Regions from separate parts of the Homo sapiens genome. Here regions 1 and 3 are each linked to region 2. The links are contacts of gene promoters, found by promoter capture Hi-C in human tissues and cell types (Jung and others, 2019). All regions are on one chromosome and are shown on one strand. The core of a region is centred on a gene start or on the middle of the fragment in contact, and the rest is flanking DNA. Distances in the headings are between cores, read along the strand shown. Region 1 holds the start of AIRE (autoimmune regulator). Region 2 holds the start of UBE2G2 (ubiquitin conjugating enzyme E2 G2). Region 3 holds the start of AGPAT3 (1-acylglycerol-3-phosphate O-acyltransferase 3).

Region 1 (3,066 bases), core at 15-2,514, 520 kb after region 2:
GGGTACCTGGGCTGGCGGTGCCCCTTGGAGTCAGGGCTGCTGGCGCGGCAGCTCGAGCCTCTTCTGAGGCCTTCCTCTTGGTGGGGAGTCTGGGTGGCGGTACCAAAGCCTTGGGGACGGCCGGGGGCTTCCTCCCCTTCCGGGGCTGGCTGAGGTCCACATCTGCAGCTCAGGGGCAGGAGCAGGGTCCCAACCTCAGGGTTTTCTCCAGGGGTAGGGTGGGCCCCAGAACTGGACACCTTGGCCAGACAGGTGAGGCCTGGCCCCTTTGCCTCTTAGGATCCAAGACGGTCCTGGAACATCACCCACGGGCTCCTCAAACACCACTCCGGTTCCAGTCCAGCTGGGCTGAGCAGGTGACAGCAGCTGCCCCAGGCCCCCAGCATGGCTGAGTCCACCAGGACCCACCTTTGGGGAAGCTGTCCAGGATGGGCTGCAGCCGGCCATAGCGCTCCAGGTTGTAGTCCTTGAACAGCACCCTCCAGAAGTCCAGGATGGCTGTGGAGTCCTGGGTCAGCAGCCAGGACAGGAGGGCGTGGAAGGCCTGGGGGCAGCCCTCCTTTTCCTTCAGATGAAGCGTCTCCTGCAGTGGGGTGGCATGAGGGTCCCTGCCATGGTCCCCCACACCCTGCGGCCTGCCCATCTCCATCATGACTAGAGGGTGGAGCTCCCAGGCAGAGGCGCTGGCGACCTGGACAGCTCCACGCCCATCTCCTCGGCTTGTGGTGGAGTCAGGTGGTGGTGTAGGGGTGTTGAGGGTGGGGCTGGGGGAACCTGGAGGCCATTCCCTTGGCTTGGGGGTGAGGTGTGGGGACGGCTGGGGGAAGGGGACCAACTTCTAACTTGTCATCAGGGACGCCCCTGGCTCCTTGTGGGGAGGGAGTTGGGGAAGGCTGGAGGGGCTTGGGGATCTGGAGGGGCGGGGTCCTCCTGGAACTTCCCCGGGGACTATCCCTGGCTCACAGGGCCTGGGGGCAGCGGGGGGCGGGCGGGGAGCCCACCTGAAACTTGTCCTCGGGGACCACGTCGTGGTCAGCCAGCGCGTGCAGCAGTGGGAAGGCGCTGTCCACGGCCACCGCGATCTCCGTGCGGTGCAGCCTCAGAAGCCGGCGTAGCGCCGCGTCCGTCGCCATGGGGTGGGCGCGGGGACCCGGGGCTGGGGCGGACGCGGTGGGTCCCGGGACACTGGCAGCCCCTCGCTTGGCCTCGGGTCCCGGCGGGGCTGTGGGGCCTCCGCGCCGGCTGTGCGCCCGCCCGTCTCCCCGGTCTGCGAGCCACGCGCGCCGCTGTTATACCCCCGCGACCACGCAAAGAGCAAAGGCCGCTCCGCCCCGGCGCCCAATCAGGGCCAGGGCCTCCCGCAGGGACACTTCCCTGTGATGGAGGCGCTGCTGTCCCTCCCTCGCTCTCGGGAAGTCTCCGGGCCTGGCCTGACTCACCCACCAGGGCAGCTGCCTTGGGGGCTGGGGACAGAGACTCGCTCTGTGCGGGACTCAGAGAACTCTCACTTCCGAATGTGGCCCTGTCCTGCCTCGGCGAGGGCCCTGCTCGAATGGGGCAAAGCCGAGACAGGTGCCCTCGGCGGGGAGGCTCGGGTCTCAGGGCCCTGGCAGGGGCTGCCCAGGGTGCACCGGCCCCTCCCAGTGGCCGGCAAGAGCCTCCATGGAGGCTGGATCGGGGTGGTGTTCCTGGGGGACCTCCACACAAGCTGAGAGCCCCTACTCAGGGGCCCGCCTGGGGCTGTGGGAGGAGCCCGATGGAGGCTCAGTCTGATGCAGGAGACGGTACGGCAGCCTGGGTGTTGCCAGGGAGCTCCTGACCTCACCATCTTAGGCTAGCTGTGTGACGCCAGGCAAGTCCTTTCCTTCTCTGAGCCTCGGTTCCCTCATCTTTAAAAGGGGCACACTCGCCTGGGGATTGAGGCTCGCATTGACCCCCTCCTTCCTTCCTCCAGGTGCTTTAGAAGGAAGGCGGCCAGCCCCACAACGGGGGTCCTGAGTGTGGCCCTGAGTGAGAGCTCCCAAAGGGTCTTCCTAGGACCAGTGACAGAGGCTGAGGGATGCTGTGGCCTGGACAGGAGCTTCCGGGGGCATCTGGGAAGGTGTCCGGGAGGGGAGCTGCAGTGGACAGGAGCCGAGGGTCCCAGGTGGACGTGAGTGGGGACAGTGCCCCCAGTAAAACAAGACCAGGTGCAGAGGCCTGGGGCCTGCAATGATGCTGAGGCTGTGGTGGCCCCGCAGGCATGGCCTGGAGGGGGGGTGGCCTCAGTGGGAGGCCTTGGTAACAGTCCCCTTGTCTGTGCGGTCAAGCCAGGGAAGCAGGCCCTGTGTGCAGGCTGCAGAGAACCACGAGAGGTCTCTGGGCACGAGTGTTCCCACTGAGCCAGAGAACGAGATGACCTGGCCAGCATGGATTAGGGCTGAAGGGTGGACGAAGGTACCAGGAAGCCTGAATCCAGGCAGCACTGGGCTGGGGGCTAACTGATGCAGTGAGAGACGCCACCAAGATTCCCACGTGGGCAGGCGTGCCGTTTGCTTTTGGGCAGCCAGAGTCCAGGATGGAGAGCGGCAGACACCTCTCCTCTAGACCAGGGGTCGGTCTCGGTTTCTCCTACCGCCTTCAGGCCCAGGGTCCCCCTGAGCGTTCTGCACGTCTGAGATTGCTCCGGAAAAGACTCTAGGGGTGTTTGGGAACAAACCTGGGGAGGAAGGTGGGGCCAGAGGTGGTGGCCGAGGTGGTCAGCCTGGGGTCAGGTGCTGGGGACGTCATGGGGAGCTGAGGGGGAGGGGGTCCATCTCAGTGGTGGCTGTGGAGTATCAGGCAGTGCAGGGTTGGAACAGGCTGGCTCCTGTGTGGAATGTCCTGGGAGCCTTGAGCGGGGAGCAGGGCCCTCTCGCTGCCCAGGCCTGGGCGTCTCTCACTCCCTGCACTGCGCCTTCCGAAGACCCCGAGAGGGAAGCCCCCTGCCTGCATGCCTGCCTTGCCGGTCCCCGCTCCAACAGACACATCCTGTCCCCAGCCAGGCCGGGCTGCTGCTCGCTGGGTTTCCTGCCCTCTCCCCTGCAG
Region 2 (2,852 bases), core at 285-2,784:
TACACTATGCATACTTGTGAAGTTTGTATTGTTAAATTTCATTTGATTTGACAAATCCGTGTTAAGAGTATACGATGTCCAGGTACAGAGGCTGCCCCAGAAACAAGACAGAAGTAGGCAGGGACCCATGGCTCTCATGGAACACGCTTTTGGTTAGAGGCAACAGATAAGGGTAATACATTTATAGCATGCCAGTAAGTTCTATAGTACGGTGTGTTGAGTAGGTGTTGCAGAGAAAAAGGTATGCGGTGAAGGCCGGGTGGTGACGGCCTAGGCCACACTGAAGAGGCAACATTTGAGCAAAGACTGAAAGAGCAGGTGGGAAGAGTCGGGGACAAGAGCCGCCAGAAAGTGTTTCCGGGGAGGGAAGAGTCAGGGACTCTGAACCAGGCCAGGGCAGCTGGAGTGGAGTGAGAGGGAGGGAGGGTCTGGGAGTATGGCGGGGTGACCGGAGGCAGAGCAAAGCACTGCAGGACTTCAGCTTTACTGAGTGAAATGGGCGGAGCAGAGTGTGAATGTGATCAGACTTCTTTTCAAGGGATCATCTGCAATGCTGGAAAGGAAAAGACAAATGATAGATTATTGCAACAAACAGCCAGGCAAGAGATGCAAACTTTTTTTGCAAAGGTGTGTGTGTATATACATCCTTGCACCGGACAGCCACGAAGCACCTACTGTGCTGTGAAGTCAGTAAGGATGTGGGTTAAAATCGCTCACCTCACAGCGGGTCAATCGGGAAAGCACACCCACTCACTACAGCCATTATGGGAAAAAGGGCTCGCCCCTTACAGGATCCTCAACTGTGGAGAGGCCGGGAGCCCACGCGGGGCGCTGGGGAGTCTCTCAGCACCCCAGGGGTTCGGGCAGGGACCTGAGCCGCGCCCTCTCTCCCGGGGGTGCCCTGGGGTCGAGGCTGCTCGGCAGAGCCGGCGGTCAGTTCGAGCCGCGGGCCCGAACAGGGCTCTCCCCGCGGCTCTCTCCCTCGGAGTAGAAGGTGCTGGACCCGAACTCCAGCGGAGCCGCACAACACGTGGAGGAAAAGCGCCAGGACAGCTAACCTTCCCACCTTTTCAAACCTGAAACCCGGCCGGCTGGGGACGGTTGGAATGTTCAGTGCGTACCCGCACCTCAGGCCCCTTGTCTCCAGCCCCAGACCGCCCCGCGACCATCCTCCCCACCCCCCGACCTCTTATCTCGTCCCCGCCCTGTCTCCCCAACCTCCATCCTCCCCTCCACAACCCCCGTCCTCCCGCCCTTCGGCCACGCGCGGCTGGCACAGAACAGGCAGTTAGCGCACACACACTGGAACAGGCGCCACCGTTCAGGAAGTCTCTACAAGACCAGGACCCTGAGGCCTCTGGAAGTGCCGGGACCGAACCAACCCCGCAGAGCGACTAAGGCGAGGGCAGGAGCCAAGAGAATCGTAGCCGCGGTCGCGGGTTGAGCTCCCACCACCCGGACAGCGCGCCTCGGCGATCGCGCACGCGCCACGCCCCGGAAGAGTTCCTGGGCCCGCGACGGTGGCCCGGAAGCAGTCCCCGGTGTCGGGGCAGGAGGCACGCGCGCGGCTGAGGCGAGGTCGCTCGGCGCAGCTGTTGCGGGGCCATGGCGGGGACCGCGCTCAAGAGGCTGATGGCCGAGTACAAACGTGAGTCTGGGGACCCGGGCCGTCAGCAGCGTCCCGCGTTCCTGCTCCCGGGCCCGCGTCGTCCGGCGGGGCTGGGGCAGGGAGCCTGGCGGGGGAGCCGGGCCCGGGGCCTCCACCGTGAGCCCCCCTGTGGGTCCCGCGGAGTGCCGCGCCCTGCGCCCGCTGCCCACTCTCACGCGTGAAGTCGTGAAGAGAAGCCTTCCCAGCATCAGTAAAGGCAGCGCCGGCGCCGTGTTAGTTGAGAGCACACACAGTTGAGTCTTTGCGGGCTTGTTTTTTTCTCTTCTATTTTTTCTTTTCTTGGCAGCCTTGAGAACGTGCAGTGAGAGCTTGAGGAAGAAGGCCTGACTTGCTGCTGCGGAATTAGGAGGGAAAAGTGTATGCGTTAAAAGGGGAAAGGCTCGTTGGTGGAGCTTTGAAAGGTCAGATTTTGGCTTTCCCTCTAATGAAGGAAAAGGGTTTTTGAACAGTGCCACCTGTCACTCCTCCTAGGTAGTGTTGAGGAAACCTCTTGAGTGCTTTCCTACCCGGTAAATTAGATATTTCTAATGTCTGAGGAGAGCGAAGGGAGAAATGAGAACCTAGGAACACTCGGCATTCCATCGTTTTACACCGAATGCCCGCTTGGAAGAACTGCTGCGAGAAGTCTTGGAATACCATTGTGTTGAAAGCGCCAGGAGCCTGAGTCGCCGATGGAGACGAGATAGTAGCCGGCTAAGAGCAGGGCCTGAGTTCAGACCCGGCCTCTCTGCTTGTTAGCTCTTTGACCTTGTTCCTCTCTCTGTCTCTGCAGTTTCCTTGTCTTAAAAGGTTAAACTTGATACTGCAGGTGAAGTGCTTAGCAAAATACCTGATGTGTAACCCTTAATAAAGTTAGCTGCTGCTTTTGTAATTAGATTGAGGATAATTTTGGAAGAAAGTTAAGCTAAAAGAATGAATGTGAGAAAAAAAATAAGTGGTGAATATACATGTAGCTTGATTTCGTAAAACTATTGGTGACACCGCCCAGTAAGAGTTGATGTTTGGCTTAAGCAGACCAAAACGTTGCAAATACAGGCTCACTCACGTATGGTCATTCTTCCCTTGGTATCTGGAGGGGATTGGTTCCAGGCCCCGCTGCAGATACCAGAATCCTCGGATGCTCAAGTCCCTACTATAAGGTGGCGTGGTATTTGCATTTAATGTATGCATAGCCTCTCATAAC
Region 3 (3,090 bases), core at 208-2,707, 940 kb after region 2:
TACTTAAGACTAACCAGAAATGGATACAAGAAGCGAGTTGTAACAGGCACAGGCTAACGCCGAACTCTGTGGGGGAGGAGGATTGGTTGGAAAGAGGGAGGGGGGGCGGCAAAGAAGTGGCCAAATCAAGAGAGTGCTCAGCATCCTCGGGAGACCCCTCTGAAGCTTTCAAACTGAGAAGACGAAGTTCAGCAATTCCTAAGCGAGTCGAGTCGGAGCAGCCGCGCCTGCAATTTAAAAGCTGCAGGATCCTGGGTCCCTCTAGCAGCCTGGGCCCGCCGCCCGCCCCACCTCCCAGCCCCCAGCAGGCTCTCGGCGTTGGCTTTCATTTTTAATAAGAGCCGCATGCTCATCACCCTCTGTCTGGAGGCCAACAGCCCACATCTTTCTTCTACTAAGATCATGTTTCCCAGGAAAAAGAACCCAACTGCTCAAGTATTCTCCTAGACAAAGCTTTTAAAATTGTGCTTTTTTTTTTTTAAAGGTCTGGGAAGCCATTTATAAAAGCATTTTCCCCATGTCACTAAACTTCTCTCAAAGTTAAAAAAAAAAAAAAAAACACTGCACCATTTTTAACTGCCTTCAAATACTAATAACCCTCCTTTCCTAAGTACTTGGGACCAATGTTCCAAGGGTCCTGGGGTGGCCAGGAGTGGGTTTTCGCCCCCACGGCTCTTGCCCCCGGACTGACCCCATCCCCTGACCCGCCCGGTGCAAACGCGCCGCCGGTCTCCGGGCCGAACCCACAGCCAACCCCGGGCCCCGCAGCCCTCCCCGCGCGGAGCGGCAAAAGTGAAACTGCTCCCTTGGCCTGGGCGCGCGAGGAGGAGGCCCCTGGGGGGGGTCCCGGGTCCGCCGCGCCCCGAAACCAGGCGGCGGGCGCGTCCTGTCCACGGGGGAGCCGAGCGGGGCCCGGAGCAGAGTCCAGGACGGAGGGATGGGACGTCCCCGCGGGAACCCACTCGCCCTCCCTCGGCCCGGCCCGGGCCCCTCCCGGGCGCCCCGAACCCCCGGGCCTCCCCGCTGGGCCCAGCGCCACCGAGGCTGCTGCGGGAAGCGGCCGGGGCCTCGCGCTGGACCAGGCCGCCGGGGAGGCCGGGGTTGCGGGGGGCGCACAGGACCCGGGCCCAGACCTCCTCCCGGCCCCGCGCCTTCCCAGGCCCCGCGCCCCGCGGAGCGCGGCCGGCCCATTGCGGCGCGGGGCCCCGGGCGGCCCGAGGTCGGACGGCTGGGGCAGGGGCGACCTCCGGCGGCGGGAGGGCGACCTCGGGCGGCGGCGGGGCGTGGGGGAAGAGGGGGGCGGCCCGACCTCGGGTGGGGGCCTCGGTGCTCACCTGCAGCCGCCGCCACCTGCTCGTCGCGCGGGCGTCCCCGGCGTCGCCTCCGCGGCCCCGCTCTGGCCGCCGCGCTCCTCGGCCCTGGGCCCGGCCCGGCCCTGCGTCGGGGCCTCAGCGAGTGCGGCGCCCGCCGCCCCCGGCCCCCATCCCGCCGCCCTCCGCCCTCCGCCCTCGGCCGCGCCGCCGCCGCCACTTCCTGTGCGCGGCGATCCCACAGTTCCGCCGGCGCGCGCGGGGCGGCCGAGGGACACGCTGGGGGGACACGGGGGAAGGACGCGGGGGGGGACGCGGGGGGACGGCGCGGGGGGGGACGCGGAGGGGACACGGGGGCGACACGGCGGGACACGCGCGCGGAGAGAGGTGTGGGCCGAGGGCGCCGGCGGGGCCGGGCGCGGAGCCTGCGTGGGATCCGCTAACGGACGGGGCTGGGGCCCGGGCTGGGGGAGGGGGCGGGCCGGGACCGCGGGGGGCGCGGGGATCAGGGGGGTCGGGGCTGAACGGGGGGAGGCGGCGAAGGACCAGGCTGGGGTCCCGCGAGGGCTCCCCCGGACCGGGTCGGGGGCAGAGGGGGCCGGGGCGCGGGGTGGGGCCGGGAGGGGCCTCCGAGCTCTGCCTGGGCCCCGCCATCTCCCCTGCCGGGGTCTCCTGCGGGCGCCGGGGAAGTTTCGCGCGCGAGCTCCTGCCCTGGTCGGCCGGGGCTTAGGGTCGCCGTCAGGGGTCGCCGCGCGGCGGGCTCGGTGGGGACGGCCCTGCGCGCAGCGGCTCCGCGGAAGGATCGCGTTTCGGCCCACGTGCCGCGCCCTTGGACTTATTCATAGTTGGCACCCGGCTGGCAACACTGTATCGACACTTGACCGTGGCGGGGGTGGGGGTCGCCCCGGGGCTGCCCTGCGAACCCCCGCGGGCGCTGACGCCGTCCCCTCCAGACCGCGGAGCCCTCTCAGCCCCAGGACAGCGGCTGCCGTCCCCCCTCCCTTGCACCTGGCCAGCGGCCGATCCCAGAACCTGCGGAGGCCGCGCAGGTGCCGCTGTCAGGGCAGGGCCCGCTGCGGGCTCCGCCTCCTGCGCCCGGTACCTTGTGTGACCTGGCGCCTGCTCAGGTCCTCAGGCCCCGGCTGGACTTGCTGAGCTTGGGTGGGCTTCATTTGAAAACCATTTAAAATACCAAGTACTGGTACTGTCTACTGTGCCCCTTTTTTTCCTTTTTTTTTTTTTTATTTTTATTATTATTGAGACAGGGTCTTGCTCTGTCGCCCACCCTGGAGTGCAGTGGTACAATCATAGCTCGCTGAAGCCTTGAACTCCAGGGCTCAAGTGATCCTCCCACCTCAGCCTCCCAAGTAGCTGGGACCACAGGCACACACCACCATGTCTGGCTAATTTAAAAAAAATTTTTTTTGTAGAAATGGGGCCTCACGGTGTTGCCCAGGCTGATCTCGAACTCCTGAGCTCAAGTATTCTCCCACCTCCTCCTCTCAAAGTGCTGGGATTACAAGTATGAGCCCCCGCACCCAGCTTGCACCTCCCTTTAAGCCTCCTCAAATTATTTCAGAAAATACTTAGACTAAAATAAAATGAAAGTACCGTGCACCTGTCCTACTCACAGTTCCCTTATTCTTGAAAAAGGAGTTAAGATTTGCAAAGCTCGTGGAATTCACCATTTGTAAAACCTCTCACCCCTCATGTCATTTTGGGTAATCTGTGCCACAGATAAATTCTCACAGGCACCACGGGATGTGTGGATACAGGGATG

Evidence for each region. Contacts are between HindIII fragments. The study calls those that stand out against the background at their distance.
Region 1: a contact is called between the fragment with the promoter of AIRE here and the fragment with the promoter of UBE2G2 in region 2, in 3 of the 25 tissues and cell types used here (IMR-90 fibroblasts, hippocampus and mesendoderm cells).
Region 3: a contact is called between the fragment with the promoter of AGPAT3 here and the fragment with the promoter of UBE2G2 in region 2, in 3 of the 25 tissues and cell types used here (dorsolateral prefrontal cortex, liver and lymphoblastoid cells).

The regions. Positions count from the first base shown.
Region 1 is chr21:44,284,074-44,287,139 of GRCh38, reverse strand. It overlaps AIRE (autoimmune regulator), which reads right to left and starts at 1,264. Exons shown (of 14, transcript NM_000383.4): 1 at 1,002-1,264; 2 at 409-583; 3 at 7-162. The coding sequence starts at 1,133. RefSeq lists enhancers at 1,785-2,386, 2,387-2,990, 2,991-3,066. The HindIII fragment of the contact is 44,459 bases long and covers 1-3,066 here.
Region 2 is chr21:44,800,502-44,803,353 of GRCh38, reverse strand. UBE2G2 (ubiquitin conjugating enzyme E2 G2) reads left to right here and starts at 1,534. Exons shown (of 6, transcript NM_003343.6): 1 at 1,534-1,648. The coding sequence starts at 1,606. It overlaps LINC01424 (long intergenic non-protein coding RNA 1424), which reads right to left and starts at 1,113. Exons shown (of 2, transcript NR_109928.1): 1 at 718-1,113. RefSeq lists silencers at 916-965, 1,466-1,685, 1,746-1,805 and an enhancer at 1,353-2,308. The HindIII fragment of the contact is 9,913 bases long and covers 1-2,852 here.
Region 3 is chr21:43,863,590-43,866,679 of GRCh38, reverse strand. It overlaps AGPAT3 (1-acylglycerol-3-phosphate O-acyltransferase 3), which reads right to left and starts at 1,457. Exons shown (of 10, transcript NM_020132.5): 1 at 1,335-1,457. RefSeq lists silencers at 699-1,018, 1,139-1,488, 2,039-2,398. The HindIII fragment of the contact is 11,781 bases long and covers 1-3,090 here.